Regions from separate parts of the Homo sapiens genome. Here regions 2, 3 and 4 are each linked to region 1. Evidence: promoter capture Hi-C in 16 types of primary human blood cells and fetal thymus (Javierre and others, 2016). All regions are on one chromosome and are shown on one strand. The core of a region is centred on a gene start or on the middle of the fragment in contact, and the rest is flanking DNA. Distances in the headings are between cores, read along the strand shown.

Region 1 (3,473 bases), core at 639-3,138:
TTGTCCAGTGTTAATAAATATAAATAGCCTAAACAATGAGATGTAGTTTTTTCACTTGATAAATATAAAATTATAATATTGAATACACCTTTAAGAACTGCACATTTATCTCCACCCTCGGTTCCCAGAAGCCCTTCTTAAGGGCCTTAGTCTCCATCCCCTGGTTGAGAATCACTGCTTTGTTGAAAGGTATGGAGAGATTGAGATGGAAAAATATAGGGTAGAATTAAAACAAAATACTTTATCATAGGACAGACAGTTTATTATAGAAATGGGCAAGGGTGAGGAATAATGTCAAATAAGAATGAGAGAGTTGGGACTCTAGATTTCCAAAAAAATCAAGAACTGTATTAAAGGTGGTAAAGCTGCAGAAGAACATCAGTTTGTACTTGTCTCAAGGGGAAGCAGTAGTTTCACCTTTAAGAAGGAGATGAAGTGAAGGGCTATACTGGCATATATAATAAAGTATTTTTCTACAGGTAACTGTATTGTTACTTGGCGATTATAGATAGATGGGCTTGGATTTTAACCTTAACTGACTAGTTTGTTACTTTTCCCTTCCACTGCCATCCCTCACCCCCTACATGCCCTCCAAGATTTCTGTCATGATTCTGGTCATTAGTTTGTAATTATGGAAAGTGACTAAGTACAACCACTAAGTTTTGTCTTTCCTTTTGAGCACATACATGTGTTTCTCTTTTGGGGACTGGTGGGCCAACACTGGCTTTTCATTCTTAATATGATAAAAGTTGGTGTGACTTCTTTATCTAGGCAGTTACTTTGCATTGAAACCAACTTAACATCTGTTCATTTTTGCTATTAGGGTTTGAATCAAGGAAAGAGAATTCATGAGATGGTTGAGAGGATTCATGAGATAGATGAGCTTGGTAGAATAAATAGGCCGTATGTGGATATAGCCAGGGTGACCCACAAGTAGTAGTAGAAGGAGGGTTAAAAAAAGTTAGATGTATGTTGGGAGAAGGTTTAATCTTGTAAGAGTCAAGGACAGTTTAAAGATAGGAACTAGAAAAGAAGTAGGAAACTAGCATAAAAATATGAGATGAATTGGGTCAGTATAGGTGAGAATGATGGGACTGAGAAGTAATGATACTTGGTGGCAAGGTTTTTGAATTATTAGGCATAGACCGAACTAGAAGAAGCAGAAATTTGGTTCGAAAATTGGGAAGGGAGAGATAAATGACAATGCATTGATCTTTAAAAAGCTTATACTAAGTCATATGGGGGTAAGGAGATTCATCAGAAACCATCAGCCTTGTTTCTCCTATTTAAAAAAAAAAAAATCTGGGCCTAAGATTGGATCATTATGGGGGAAAGGAAGAGCATTAGAATTAACAAATAGCAAGGAATCATGGAAGCGACAAAATACTCCATGGAATAAGGAGCAGGCTATAAACTATTTGCAACGTAAACTTCTGGTTAGTAGAAACTTTCAGCGTGGTGGCTCATGCCTATAATCCCAGCACTTTGGGAGGCTGAGGCGACGGCTCACCTCTGAAGTCGAGAGTCCGAGACCAGTCTGACTAACGTGGCGAAAACCTGTCTCTACTAAAAATACAAAATTAGCCGAGTGTGGTGGCGCAGGCCTGTAATCCCAGCTATTCGGGAGGCTGAGGCAGGAGAATCGCTTGAACCCAGGAGGTAGAGGTTGCGGTGAGCCGAGATCGCGCCATTGCACTCCAGCCTGGGCGACAAGAGTGAAACTCTGTCTCAGAAAAAAAAAAAAAAAAAAAAAGAAACTTTCACTGTTGTTTTTATATTACTCCTAGCTGTAGATACTTTAACTTCTGACGGTGAGTAGAGAATGAAAAATAATTGGTGCCAAAGTAGGTATACTGGAAAAAAGCTGATGATAATGGGAAGGAAATTTATTAATATCAAGTTATTGAGTAGGTTTTCGTTAAATCAGGAAGCATTCATAACTTTCCTGATTGCCATTTTGAGTAATTTGGAGGCAAATATTAGATATGAGAGGCTGGAATGAGCTGGTGGAATAGGCTAGCCAGGAATGGGAGATGGTATGGATCTTGGGTTGAGATATGAAAAGTATGCAATTACTGAAGCAAGGACGATCTTGTTTAACATTGTTGGAGATACCATGTATACTTTGTAATTTTGACTCACGTGTTTGTTCTCTTTGTCTGTTTTGGAGTATCTGATATATTAACCCATATTATATTGTTTTATAAGGATAAGTGAGATGGGTTGGGAAGGAAAAAACATAGCATGGGGGTTATATGGAAAAGTCTCCTTCAGTCAGGACTGTGCCTCTGACAAATTTCTTATCTGGTGTCTTCCAAAAGTTAGGAGAAATGGTCTTACCAAGCAAGACTTTCCTGTATTGTCAAATACTGTCATCATATACAAAGAACAGATATTTCTTTTTCATATATTTGGGTTTTATGGTGATATACTTCCCTGTCTTTGATAGCTTTTCTTTTTTCCACTAGTTTCATGAACTTAAAACCCTAGACATGGATTTTGTGAACCTACTTTCAGCCATTCATAAGACATGTTTTCAAGATAGGAAGCTTTTTACCATCTCATGTTAGAATCAAAGGATACCATTTAGTTTCTGTGAGGATCGAATGGTTTACTCCAGATAATGCGAGCAAGTATAATTCATTAACTGTTTTTTGATTAGCTACTATATGTGCTATGTCCTGCTGGTTCTTAGGGGATCCACAGATAAATAAAACATAGTCCCCACCATCCAAGAACTTTCTCCCAGAGAAAGAGGAGCTGGGCCATGGTACAGAGTTGTGGAGGGTGTACATTGCATACATTCATAACAAATTTTTATATATTTAGTATGGCAGTTTTCCAGGCATCTTGAGAAGTGGGCAACTTTTTACAATTTGCGCAAAGGAACCATTTGGGCCTTCAGAGGATATATTACAGACTTAGGTCATTATAATAAAATATTAAATATAAGTGTTTTAAGGTATAAACAATGGTGTGGGTATTTAAAGGAGGTGGAGGGATCAAGTCATCACAAGTTGCTCAGTTGTTAAAGCGTCAGAGGTTCAGGGCTCACTTAATGGAGTAGAAGACCTTTGAGGGTTGGTAGGATTTTAGCTGCGAGAGATTATTGGCATTGGGATGGAGAGGACGTGTTCCAGGCAGAAAGCACAGCATCATAAGCAAAGTCACACAGGTAGGAATCACATTAAGGGAATTGTGTAGTCTAGTTGGACTGGAATGTAAAATATATGTAAGAGATGGTAAGAGGAAGTTGGGAATATAAATTGGAAACAATGTTGAATCCCTTGCAATTGACCTTTTTTATCTTAAATATGAGAAAGTTTTCTTGAGAGGGGACTTCAGAACAAAAATCCCATTATAGATTAATATGTTAACTAGAATAAAGGTTGCAAAACTTCCTGGGTAAAATTGTATGATCACTTTGGTGAGATTGTACTATAAGCCTTGGTTAAAGGTGGTTATTTTTGCCA
Region 2 (3,473 bases), core at 974-3,473, 2.8 Mb before region 1:
TGGGACAAGCAAGTGGCAAAGCTAGGATTTGTAGCCAGGCAGTCTGGCTCCAGGATCCATGTTCTTAATCACTCTGCTTACTGCCTCCTACCTGTAATTCTGTGTGTGTGCACATCCCTCCTATGTATGCAAAACTCCCATCACAGTGGCTGGCACAAAGAGAACCAATAAATGGCTTAACTCTTTCCTCACTGGGACTACAAATACACAGGGATAGGAAAAATGTCTCTTTTCGAGAATTTGTTATAGGATCTAGGAAAGGACAAGTATATAATGGACACTTTACATACATTTCCAGGGGCTGAGAGAGGTGTGAAGGATATATAAAGATTTAAAGCACTGGCGGGGCATGGTGGCTCACACCTGTAATCCCAGCACTCTGGGAGGCCAAGGTGGGCAGATCACCTGAAGTCAGGAGTTTGAGACCAGCCTGGCCAACATGGTGAAACCCCGTCTCTTCTAAAACTACAAAAATCAGTCGGGTGTGGTGGTGCATGCCTGTAGTCCCAGCTACTCCAGAGGCTGAGGCAGGAGAATCGCTTGAACCCAGGAGGCAGAGGTTGCAGTAAGCAGAGATCGTGCCACTGCACTCCTGCCTGGGCAACAGAGTGAGACCCTGTCTCAAAAAAAAAAAAAAAAAAAATTTAAAGCACTACCTTCTTACCCAGGTGTGAGTTATAAACACACACATGCCACATGGACACACTATTCGCAAAGACATCACACACGTGTACGTGTGGTACACACACACTCACTAGCCACCCTGAACCTCATAAAGGCTCCACCAGAAAACCTTCTTTGCAGTAGGCACAGGGAAAAAAATCACAGTCTTTAAAAGTACATATGAAGGTCTATCAAATCAGACTGGGGCATTTTAGAGAACTTCCTCGAGGTGCCACTTGAGTTACATTTTTTTTTCTTTGTACTGTGGAGTTCAAAAAGTTAAATCTTAAAGATAAACAGGAATTACTGTGGCAAAGGAGGAGTGTGGAGAAAGGAGAGTCAAGAGGGAACAGGCTAACATATTTAGGAAACTGCAAGTATTTCTGTAGGCTGTCATGAAGAGTTTTTGGCAGGGTCAGGCAGGATATACAGCCAGAGAGTAGGCAGAGCCCAAATGCCAATAGGTCTGATGTGCTGAGCTGAGAGATTACAATTCTATCCTGAAAAGGAGCCACTCAGCACTTTTAGGCACAGATATGACGTCAAATCTGCATTTTAGAAAAATGGATTCAGTAGCACAGAGGATGGACTGATAACAAGGGATGAGGTGGAGAACACTGAAAAGACTTTCAACAATCTGGAGAAGAAATTCGGAGTTTGAACTCCTAGTGGCAGTGGGAAGAGAAAGAGTATTTAAGCGAGTTTAAGAAGTGAGGAGGAAATAGTGCCATTCACTACAATAGAAAACATAAAGGCCAATGTTTAGACAGGATGGATGAAAGATAATTTATACCTTTTGGCTTTTGGAGTTTGAGGTGTCTCTGGGACACCAGGTGATATCCAACAGGTGTTTGAATATGTATGTGCATGTATATTATTTATTGTTATTTAAGCTTGCAAGACATCTGGGCTGGAGATATAAATTTGGGTGTCATCAATTTACAGGTAGTAATTAAAACAATGAGTGTGGATGAACTCACCCAGAGAAAGTGTAATGCCAGATTTGTGGGCCAAAACAGCTCTGAGGAGCTCCAACTCGAAGCAGTTGAAGGCTTACATTTAAACATTCTCCCAGGAACAGTGGGTGAAGTGAAAAAGGGGTGAGGAAAGGGCCCTGGAGATCACCAACATTTAGGGGTGGAGGTGAACAGATGAGAAGAGAGAGGCAGAGGTGCAGGAGGAGAAGCCAGAATGGGGGTGTCAAGTATAAAGAAATGGGTAGCGTCAAATGCTTCAGAGGTTAGAGAAAATGACAGGAAACTCCCCCTGTTAGATTTGACATCTAGAAGGCTGTCGGTGTGGCCAGGGTGAGGTCAGTGGAGTAGTGAAGGTGCGGGTTTCCGGCTGTTGGAGAAACCTCTTCCACTAACTACATTGCACTCTGAGTTACCAACTGGCATGGTCCTCCCCCCATTTCACACGCACGCTACAGTCGCCCGTGCGCACTCGTACACACCAGGTGGCTAACAGGTACGAGGCGTTTCCGGACAGCGAGCGCAGAGCCCCCGCGCACGCGCCTCCGAGCCGGCCTCTTCCGCCGCAAGTCCCTCCCCAAGCCTGCAGAGTGCGCTGCGTTTCGATGAGCCGGGACGTGGCGCCGCTCTAGCCAGCGCCTGGGCTCTGTGGCGGGCGCCGCAGCTCCGCGTCCCCCGCGCCTCCTCCCAGCGCAGGTGGGTCCGCCCGCGGGGGGCGGGGGTGCCCGGGAGCCGTGGGACGGGCGGGTAGCGGCAACCTTTGGGGAGCAGAGTGGTCCCCAACGCCCAGGTGCCCCGGCTCGCGCTCTGGCCCGGGCGAATCGGGCTATAGGAAGGGCCACACGGATGGAAGTCCTAGTCCGGGTGCTCACCTCTTGTGGAACGTGCAAAGCCTGTCCCAGGACCTCTTTACACTCTGGGGGTCTCTGCCCAGGCACGCTTGCTGCTTCCGGACACAGCTGTGGGCGGAGCTAGTAGGGGCGGGGCTACGTGATTGACACTTCTCTCCTCAGACTTCAAGGGCTACCACTGGACCCTTCCCCTGTCTTGAACCCTGAGCCGGCACCATGGTGAGAACCCTGAGCCCAGCCCTTCACCTCCGCAGGCCCGCGCCCTCACCCCCAGTGGCAGTGCCATGGTTGCCCCGTATGAACCTAGGGCTCCACAGTGTGGGGTTTTTGCAGGTCAGCTTCTGCAAGGCAACCTGCACTCTTCCAACCCGTTCATCCTTGTAGCACGGACGCCTGAAGGTGAAGACGTCAGAAGAGCAGGCGGAGGCCAAAAGGCTAGAGCGAGAGCAGAAGCTGAAGCTATACCAGTCAGCCACCCAGGCCGTATTCCAGAAGGTGGGGCCCTCAGAGGTAGCCCCGACCCCAAGTAGCTCCCTTAGTATAGTGCAGAGGCCAAGAGCTGGTCCCTAGAGTCAGACTGCCTAGATCCAATTCTGGGTTATCTCACTTATAACTGTATGACTTTGGGCAAGTTGCTGAATCTCTTTGGGCCTCAGTTTGCTCATCTGTAAAATGGGGCTAATAATTGCACCTACTGCATAAGGCTGTTGTGAAGATTAAATGAGAGAATACCTGTAAGGCCATAAAGCATGGTTCATAGTACCTGTTGTATAATGTGGGATTCACAGAATATTGGATGGTTTTAAGTTTACGTTATTTAGTCCTGTAGTGGGAAAATTATATGATCTCTAACCCTGCCACCTATCTTCTTAGCGCCAGGCTGGTGAGCTGGATGAGTCCGTGCTGGAACTGACAAGCCAGATTCTGGGAGCCAACCCTGATTTTGCCACCCTCTGGAACTGCCGACGAGAGGTGCTCCAGCAGC
Region 3 (3,473 bases), core at 559-3,058, 2.8 Mb before region 1:
ACTCAGTGCATTGGGCCAATGGTTCGACACAGGCTCTGCCAGCCACAACCATCCTGCTGCTTCTGACGGTTTGGCTGCTGGTGGGCTTTCCCCTCACTGTCATTGGAGGCATCTTTGGGAAGAACAACGCCAGCCCCTTTGATGCACCCTGTCGCACCAAGAACATCGCCCGGGAGATTCCACCCCAGCCCTGGTACAAGTCTACTGTCATCCACATGACTGTTGGAGGCTTCCTGCCTTTCAGGTATCCTCCCTTTATTCCATGGCTATTACTGTCAGGTTCCTGACCTCAATTTTTCCTGTCCCTACTCATCCAGTACCCTAACCCAACCCGTTGATCCCTGGTTCAGTGGTACCATTCAGAGATCATTAAATGGTTCCTCCTATCCCCAAGCAGGACTGAGCTTGAATGATATGAGAGTGTCTCACTTATAAAGCTCTCCGGAGACATTTCCCCCTTCACCTTCCTGGTTTCTGACTTTAATGCCTATGGACATCATGTGGGGTTTAAAGCCCATTTGATGACCCATTTACTTTGTTGAATACCTCTTTGTGCCAGGCAAAGAATAAAGTGGAATAAAATGGACAAGATCCCTGCCCTCAATCTATTAGGGAAGATATTCTTGAAGTGAGAGCGGCTAATCATAGGCAAAAAATCCCCATGAAGCCAGGAGATCTGGGGCAGAGAGTGGAGTGAACTCACTTTTCACAATGACCCAGCAACATGGGAGAGGGTGGGGGCTGGATTTCAGCCCAGCCACTGTGCTGATGGTGCACAGCCCTTTAATGCTGTGTATCATCTCTTTTCTTCACAGTGCCATCTCTGTGGAGCTGTACTACATCTTTGCCACAGTATGGGGTCGGGAGCAGTACACTTTGTACGGCATCCTCTTCTTTGTCTTCGCCATCCTGCTGAGTGTGGGGGCTTGCATCTCCATTGCACTCACCTACTTCCAGTTGTCTGGGGAGGATTACCGCTGGTGGTGGCGATCTGTGCTGAGTGTTGGCTCCACCGGCCTCTTCATCTTCCTCTACTCAGTTTTCTATTATGCCCGGCGCTCCAACATGTCTGGGGCAGTACAGACAGTAGAGTTCTTCGGCTACTCCTTACTCACTGGTTATGTCTTCTTCCTCATGCTGGGCACCATCTCCTTTTTTTCTTCCCTAAAGTTCATCCGGTATATCTATGTTAACCTCAAGATGGACTGAGTTCTGTATGGCAGAACTATTGCTGTTCTCTCCCTTTCTTCATGCCCTGTTGAACTCTCCTACCAGCTTCTCTTCTGATTGACTGAATTGTGTGATGGCATTGTTGCCTTCCCTTTTGCCCTTTGGGCATTCCTTCCCCAGAGAGGGCCTGGAAATTATAAATCTCTATCACATAAGGATTATATATTTGAACTTTTTAAGTTGCCTTTAGTTTTGGTCCTGATTTTTCTTTTTACAATTACCAAAATAAAATTTATTAAGAAAAAGGCTCATGCAGTTGGAGGTTTTGGTCTGGATATAGGAACTCGAGCCCTGCTGTTAAGGGCACGGTCCTTTATAAAGCCGAGCTGGCCACTGAATGCCCGAAGCTCGAGTTCTCCAACCCAGCTTGGGAACTCCCGGCGTGGGGAACCTACATTGCCAGAGTCGGGTTTCCGCGATTCAGCCGGTGCTCAGCCTAACGGAAGTGGAGGAGCCGGACCTCTTTGTGGGAAGCGAATTGAATCACCTTGGCAACCCGCGGGGCGTGCAGCAACGCCCTTTCCTCCGGAAGTGGGTGTCAGAACCTCCACGTGCTGTCCCTCCCCCTCCCCTTTTCGGCCCAGTAGCGGCGGCTCAGTTGCTGCCATGGAGTCAGCCGGGCTAGAGCAGCTCCTACGGGAGCTGCTGCTACCGGACACCGAGCGCATCCGTCGGGTACGGAGCAGGCGTAACCGGGCCAGGGCGAGCGGGAGGTTGCGGGAAAGGCCCAACTCTCACCCCTAGCTTCCCCCCAGGCCACGGAACAGCTCCAGATCGTTCTTCGGGCCCCCGCCGCTTTGCCGGCTCTCTGCGACCTGCTAGCCTCGGCGGCCGACCCCCAGGTGAGACCCCTGACTCTCCCCTCCGAGCTTCCCACTGTACGCCACCGGTCAAGCCCCAGTATTCGCCCACTGCGGTCCGCTCAGCACCTTCCTGCCCGGACCCCCACGTGCTTGCTTCCTCGTCCTAGATCCGCCAGTTTGCGGCCGTGCTGACCCGCAGACGACTGAACACCCGCTGGCGACGGCTGGCGGCGGAGCAACGGGAGAGGTGGGCTGGGCCTGGGGTGGGGCGGGGCCAGGCGGAGACTTTTCTTGGGCAGGCTGGGTACCAAACACCTGCCACCTGTGTTCCAGCCTCAAGTCCCTGATCCTGACGGCCCTGCAGAGAGAAACAGAGTAAGTACCTACCCACTTCTCTCGGGATCTTGACGACTTTGTCTAGGTTTCTGCCTTCCTTTTCGGCTCCAGGCTGGGACTTGTGGGGCAGGGACTTCAGTTCTAGACGCAAGGTGGAGTGAGGATTTTAAGGCTGTTTTGAAGACTAAAGTTCTTGAGGAAGGGTGATGATGATCTGCCAAACCCAAGTCAGAAGAATAAGACTGAAATTCAGGCTAAGTTAGACTGAACTTACCAGATTACATGCCCACAGTGCTGTTGGGCTCCCTCTGAGCTGCTGTCTCATGTGTCCCAACTTGGCAAAGACCCTGTGCCCACACCTCCTGAAAGTTTCTGTCCTGGCTGCCCCATTGAGCCTGGCCACTGTGTGCAGAGGAAGGTATTGAAGGGTGATTGGAGGAGATCTCTCCTGTTTGCAGGCACTGTGTGAGCCTCAGCCTGGCCCAGCTCTCAGCCACCATTTTTCGAAAGGAAGGCTTGGAGGCCTGGCCACAGCTTTTGCAGCTGCTTCAGCACAGTACCCACAGCCCCCACAGCCCAGAGAGAGAGGTACCATCACATGGTTGGCAGGAGGGAGGGCCTGAGAGGCTGGATAGACCTTGTAAGCTTGCTCTCCCATCCTCTATTCTTGGACAGATGGGGCTTTTGCTGCTAAGTGTGGTGGTGACCTCCCGGCCCGAGGCCTTCCAACCCCACCACCGGGAGCTTCTTCGGCTTCTGAATGAGACTCTTGGTGAGGTGGGCTCTCCTGGGCTGCTCTTCTACTCCCTGCGCACTCTGACCACCATGGCTCCCTACCTCAGCACTGAAGATGTGGTGAGATGTGGGCCCTCGTTATCTTTGACTCCCTTTCCTCATGCCTTCATGTCCTCACCCGTAAAAGTTACAAAGCTGCTTTGGATTCTTTACCTGCCTGTGGCCCTTCCTGACAATTGAGAGGGGATGCTGTAGGTGGGCCTGGCTGTTATGCCTGGGCTCCTCCTCGCAATTCAGGCTGTGAGGAAGCTGCCAGCTGCTGGGGTGTGAGATTGGGCTGCATCATGCTCTCTGTGATGTGTCCCTCAG
Region 4 (3,473 bases), core at 861-3,360, 2.7 Mb before region 1:
GACTTCTTCCCCCAAACCAACCAAATTCAGAGTCAATGGCTATCTAGCTCTTAGACCACTTGGTACTCATTTTGAGGTTTGAGGCTGACTAGACCTTGGCTGTTATTTTTGGTCTCCTATAAAACACAGTAGGAAAGAGAGTTTTACTCTTACAGCAAGAGCAAGACCAACATGCTGTGGACGTGACCTACTAAGTTGACCTCCCAGCGAGCTAAACATTCTAACATCATTTCCTTAGAACAAGAGCAAGACCAATACGCTGTGGACATGACCTACTAAGTTGACCTCCCAACAAGCTAAACATCCTCACAGCATTTCCTTCTGAGCCTCTGCCTGAGAAGTCCACCACAGAAGACAATATTCTAAGCTGGGTGCGGTGGTGTGTGCAACTGTAGTCTTAGCTACCTGGGAGGCAAGGATTGCTTGAGCCCAGGAGTTGCAGGCTGTGGTGTGCACTTGATCACACCTGTGAATAGCCCGTTCTCCAGACTGGGGAACACAGTGAGCCCTGTCTATGTCTACTAAAAACAACACAAAACACAAACAAAAAAGAATACAATATTCTGAAGGGACCCCCAAACCCATCTTCTCCTCAAAGAGCCATAAGCAAAGAAAGAAAGCCAGCTGCACCCTTTTCCAGTCAATTCCAGGTGGTCTCTCCCTTCAAGGCATTCTTTCCTCAAGAACAGGTTAGAGTCAGGGCAAATTAAACTTGTTTTTCAAGTAAATCGAAGTGGCCTCATATCATGTGTCAACTGCCTTACTAAAAAGTTCAACACTCCCTTCCCATCTCTTCACCCCTTACATCACTCCTTTCCCACTAGGACCCCCCCCTTTTTTTTTTCAAGCTTACTTGGAAAATAGACTATATTTGTGTAGTCACAGAGACAGGCTCCCTTGAATAGCCCCTCAAACACATGAGCAGGTCCTCTTGGTGACCCTCCCTAGGTAAGAACCACTCTTACTGGGTATGGAGCTGAGTGCCATGGGTGCCCAGCAGGGAAAGGCTGTTCAGCTCAAACAGAACAGCTGTCCTGAGCGAATCCCATTTCCTAACCTCTGTAATTTTCCTGCCTGGAGTTGGGATCAAGGCACTGTGGTAGCACCTGCTGGGGGTCACACCAGAGGGTAAGTTACCTGCGGAGGAGATAGGCCAGTACCTGGGCCAGATCCACATCTTCATCCTCTTCTTCCTCTTCCTCACTCCGACGCAGGCCAGCCCCTCTTCGGGGCAAGCCCTCGGAGGGGTCTCCGGACCCGGATCCTGCACTGCTGCTGTTCCGCGATCCCATCTTCTGGTCACAGCATTCTTAGGTCCTGTGCGGGGGCTCCTCCTGTCACCTCCTTGGGTTTGGTGAAAGCAAAGCGTGCTCTAGAAATACCAGGGTCTCCTGAGACGGGGTAGTAGCTATCTCTAGGAGGGTGACCCTTCCTCGGGGCTGAGATCCCTTTTCTTTAGCCTATGCCAACTACCAAGGCGTCGGGAACACAAACCTTCTCCAATCCTGTGAAGCAAAGAAAGCAAGAGTGAACCGTAGTGCGCTACCCTAGCTCACCAACTGAAGAAAGATTTGTTTTCTACACCAAACTCACCTATCGAAGTCCCCGGACTGGGGAGCGGGAGGGGTGTTGGGCGGTGTTGGATTTCCAGGTAACCTCTCTGACCGACCAATCGAAATCCCTCTCGGAAGAAAGCGCTTCACTAGCTTATCTCATCTAACCAATTAGAAGCCTTAGGACTCAAAGACCCTCGACGCCCCCACCTTATCGACCAATCAGAGCGCCCCCTTACAAAGGCCGGCAGCAGTGACAGCCAATGAAAATAGAATTTGGCCTAACACCCCTCCTTCCTCGCCTCACGCCCACGTGGTGCGCCGGGGGTGTGTACGCCATGAGGGGGAGGAAGCCGAGAAGCACCTCCCACTGAAGCCGGCGGTAACCGCCCCACGCGAGACCACCCACCAGCCAGGAGCGGTCGCAGGACCCGCAGCGGCGCGAGGCCTTGTTTACACCGACTGCCGCCACTGCGTTGGCCAACCGCTCCTCCGTCACGCGCTTCGCTCGTCACGCATCTCGCGGCTTCCTGGCCGGCGGGCTGCAAACGTCACACGACGGCCCCGCCCCCTTGGCCAGCCAACTGGACAGCGGAGCACGATGATTGATAGGTAGGCGGGAGAATGCGCGAGGTGCCTGAGGGGAGGAGAAAGTGCACACCCAAGGAGGGCTGTTAGCTCTTGCTGGGGAGGAGTAAGTGGGAACTGCCAGCTTCCTGAATCAGAGACAGCCGAACTAGGCGTAACGGCTGAGAGGCGGGGCTTAAAAAAGAAACGTTTGGTGGTTCGCTACCGAGAGGTATTTTAGCAAGGGATATAATTTACTGTCTGTCCCTAAAGATCATTTGGCATCGCACTTTTCAGACAGTGCCCAAGGGCCTCCTTTCTCCCCACTGCTTCCCCTGTCCAGCTGGAGCCGTTCTTCTGTCGCTGGCCGCAGCTCCAGTCGGTTCTGCCCTAAGGGGTGCCCAGCGTCCCAGTAGACCTCCATACCGTCCTTCCGGGCTTAGCTTTTGGAAGCCTTGCTCTTGGGACGGTCCCCTTTTAGACCTCCCTTTATCCGGTCTGACAATTTTTTAAGACAATCCCTGGCTTTCCGCCGCGGTCTTTGCAGACGTTCCCTAATACACGCGTCTTTCTGTCAAAGCTTTTCCGGTTCCGCTGTCCCCTTTGACGCTCCCTTGGCCCTCCGGGATTTGCAGACCTTCGCTAGTCCCTCTGTCCTCGCGGTGCCTCTCCGCCCCCGGCCGCGGGTCCAGGGTGCGCGCTCGCCGCCTCCTGCCCCCTCCTGCCCCCTCCTGCGGGTTTATGAGTAACAAGCCTGAGTCCAAGGCCGGGAGTTGCCACATCTCTGATCCTCGCCCTGGCTGGGTGGGGACGTGTGGGTTGAATGACCTTGCTGTCTCGGGCTCAGAGGCTCAGGGTCCGAGCTGAACTTCATTCCCTGCAGCCTGCACTTCCTTGGGAAAGCTGCGAGCTTCCCTCCGCCCGCTCCTGAGGGCAGGGATGGGAGCGAGGGCTCGTGGCCTTCTTGGGCCCTCCTGGGGCCTCTCCCAGTGAGGGCGAGGGTTTGGCCAGCTTTCGGGCGACGTCTCCTAGTCTCTAGATCCGGAGACCTGAGCTTGTCACCAGGGCTAGCTTTGATGGCCTCTGCGCTTAGAAGGGTCCTGAATGTTTGGTTTAATGTTCTAGTGTTAACGGTCTTGAAATTATTAGTAATTTTAAAGCAAGTGCCTGGTATTTTCATCTTGCACTCGGCTCCACTGATTATGTAGGCGGTCTGCTGGGCGCCCATCCTCTATTGCCAGATTACTTACTATCTGTGCTTTAACGTTTATTGAGACTTTAGGATTCCGTGGTTTCTGGGTTATCCAGCCTGGAAAATCGGGATCTTTATTTATTGATTGATTTTACCTGCGT

Evidence for each region. Contacts are between HindIII fragments. The CHiCAGO score rates a contact against its expected background, and 5 or more counts as called.
Region 2: the fragment with the promoter of RABGGTA here is called in contact with a fragment that was not itself captured in region 1 in 1 of 17 cell types (non-activated CD4 T cells); the score reaches 6.5 in non-activated CD4 T cells.
Region 3: a contact is called between the fragment with the promoter of IPO4 here and a fragment that was not itself captured in region 1, in 1 of 17 cell types (activated CD4 T cells). The highest score is 6.6, in activated CD4 T cells.
Region 4: a contact is called between the fragment with the promoter of DCAF11 here and a fragment that was not itself captured in region 1, in 1 of 17 cell types (non-activated CD4 T cells). The highest score is 6.8, in non-activated CD4 T cells.

What each region holds. Positions count from the first base shown.
Region 1 is chr14:21,432,320-21,435,792 of GRCh38, reverse strand. All of the region lies in intron 1 of CHD8 (chromodomain helicase DNA binding protein 8), which reads left to right. Among named protein-coding and RNA genes, the nearest start is that of CHD8, 22 kb to the left of the region's middle. The HindIII fragment of the contact is 1,326 bases long and covers 1,226-2,551 here.
Region 2 is chr14:24,270,347-24,273,819 of GRCh38, reverse strand. It overlaps RABGGTA (Rab geranylgeranyltransferase subunit alpha), which reads left to right and starts at 2,223. Exons shown (of 17, transcript NM_182836.3): 1 at 2,223-2,333; 2 at 2,651-2,707; 3 at 2,873-2,983; 4 at 3,362-3,473. The coding sequence starts at 2,705. It also overlaps a transcript of NOP9 not described here. RefSeq lists enhancers at 1,876-1,955, 2,696-2,905 and silencers at 2,046-2,145, 2,216-2,505. The HindIII fragment of the contact is 2,930 bases long and covers 1,559-3,473 here.
Region 3 is chr14:24,187,151-24,190,623 of GRCh38, reverse strand. IPO4 (importin 4) reads left to right here and starts at 1,808. Exons shown (of 30, transcript NM_024658.4): 1 at 1,808-1,905; 2 at 1,986-2,072; 3 at 2,201-2,280; 4 at 2,367-2,408; 5 at 2,828-2,957; 6 at 3,045-3,224. The coding sequence starts at 1,837. It overlaps TM9SF1 (transmembrane 9 superfamily member 1), which reads left to right. Exons shown (of 6, transcript NM_006405.7): 5 at 1-244; 6 at 816-1,475. The coding sequence ends at 1,209. RefSeq lists silencers at 2,237-2,356, 2,602-2,812. The HindIII fragment of the contact is 6,803 bases long and covers 1-3,016 here.
Region 4 is chr14:24,113,414-24,116,886 of GRCh38, reverse strand. It overlaps DCAF11 (DDB1 and CUL4 associated factor 11), which reads right to left and starts at 2,110. Exons shown (of 15, transcript NM_025230.5): 1 at 1,594-2,110; 2 at 1,138-1,505. The coding sequence starts at 1,292. It overlaps NRL (neural retina leucine zipper), which reads left to right and starts at 1,938. Exons shown (of 3, transcript NM_001354768.3): 1 at 1,938-2,165. RefSeq lists enhancers at 2,031-2,180, 2,421-2,560, 2,142-2,857. The HindIII fragment of the contact is 1,852 bases long and covers 851-2,702 here.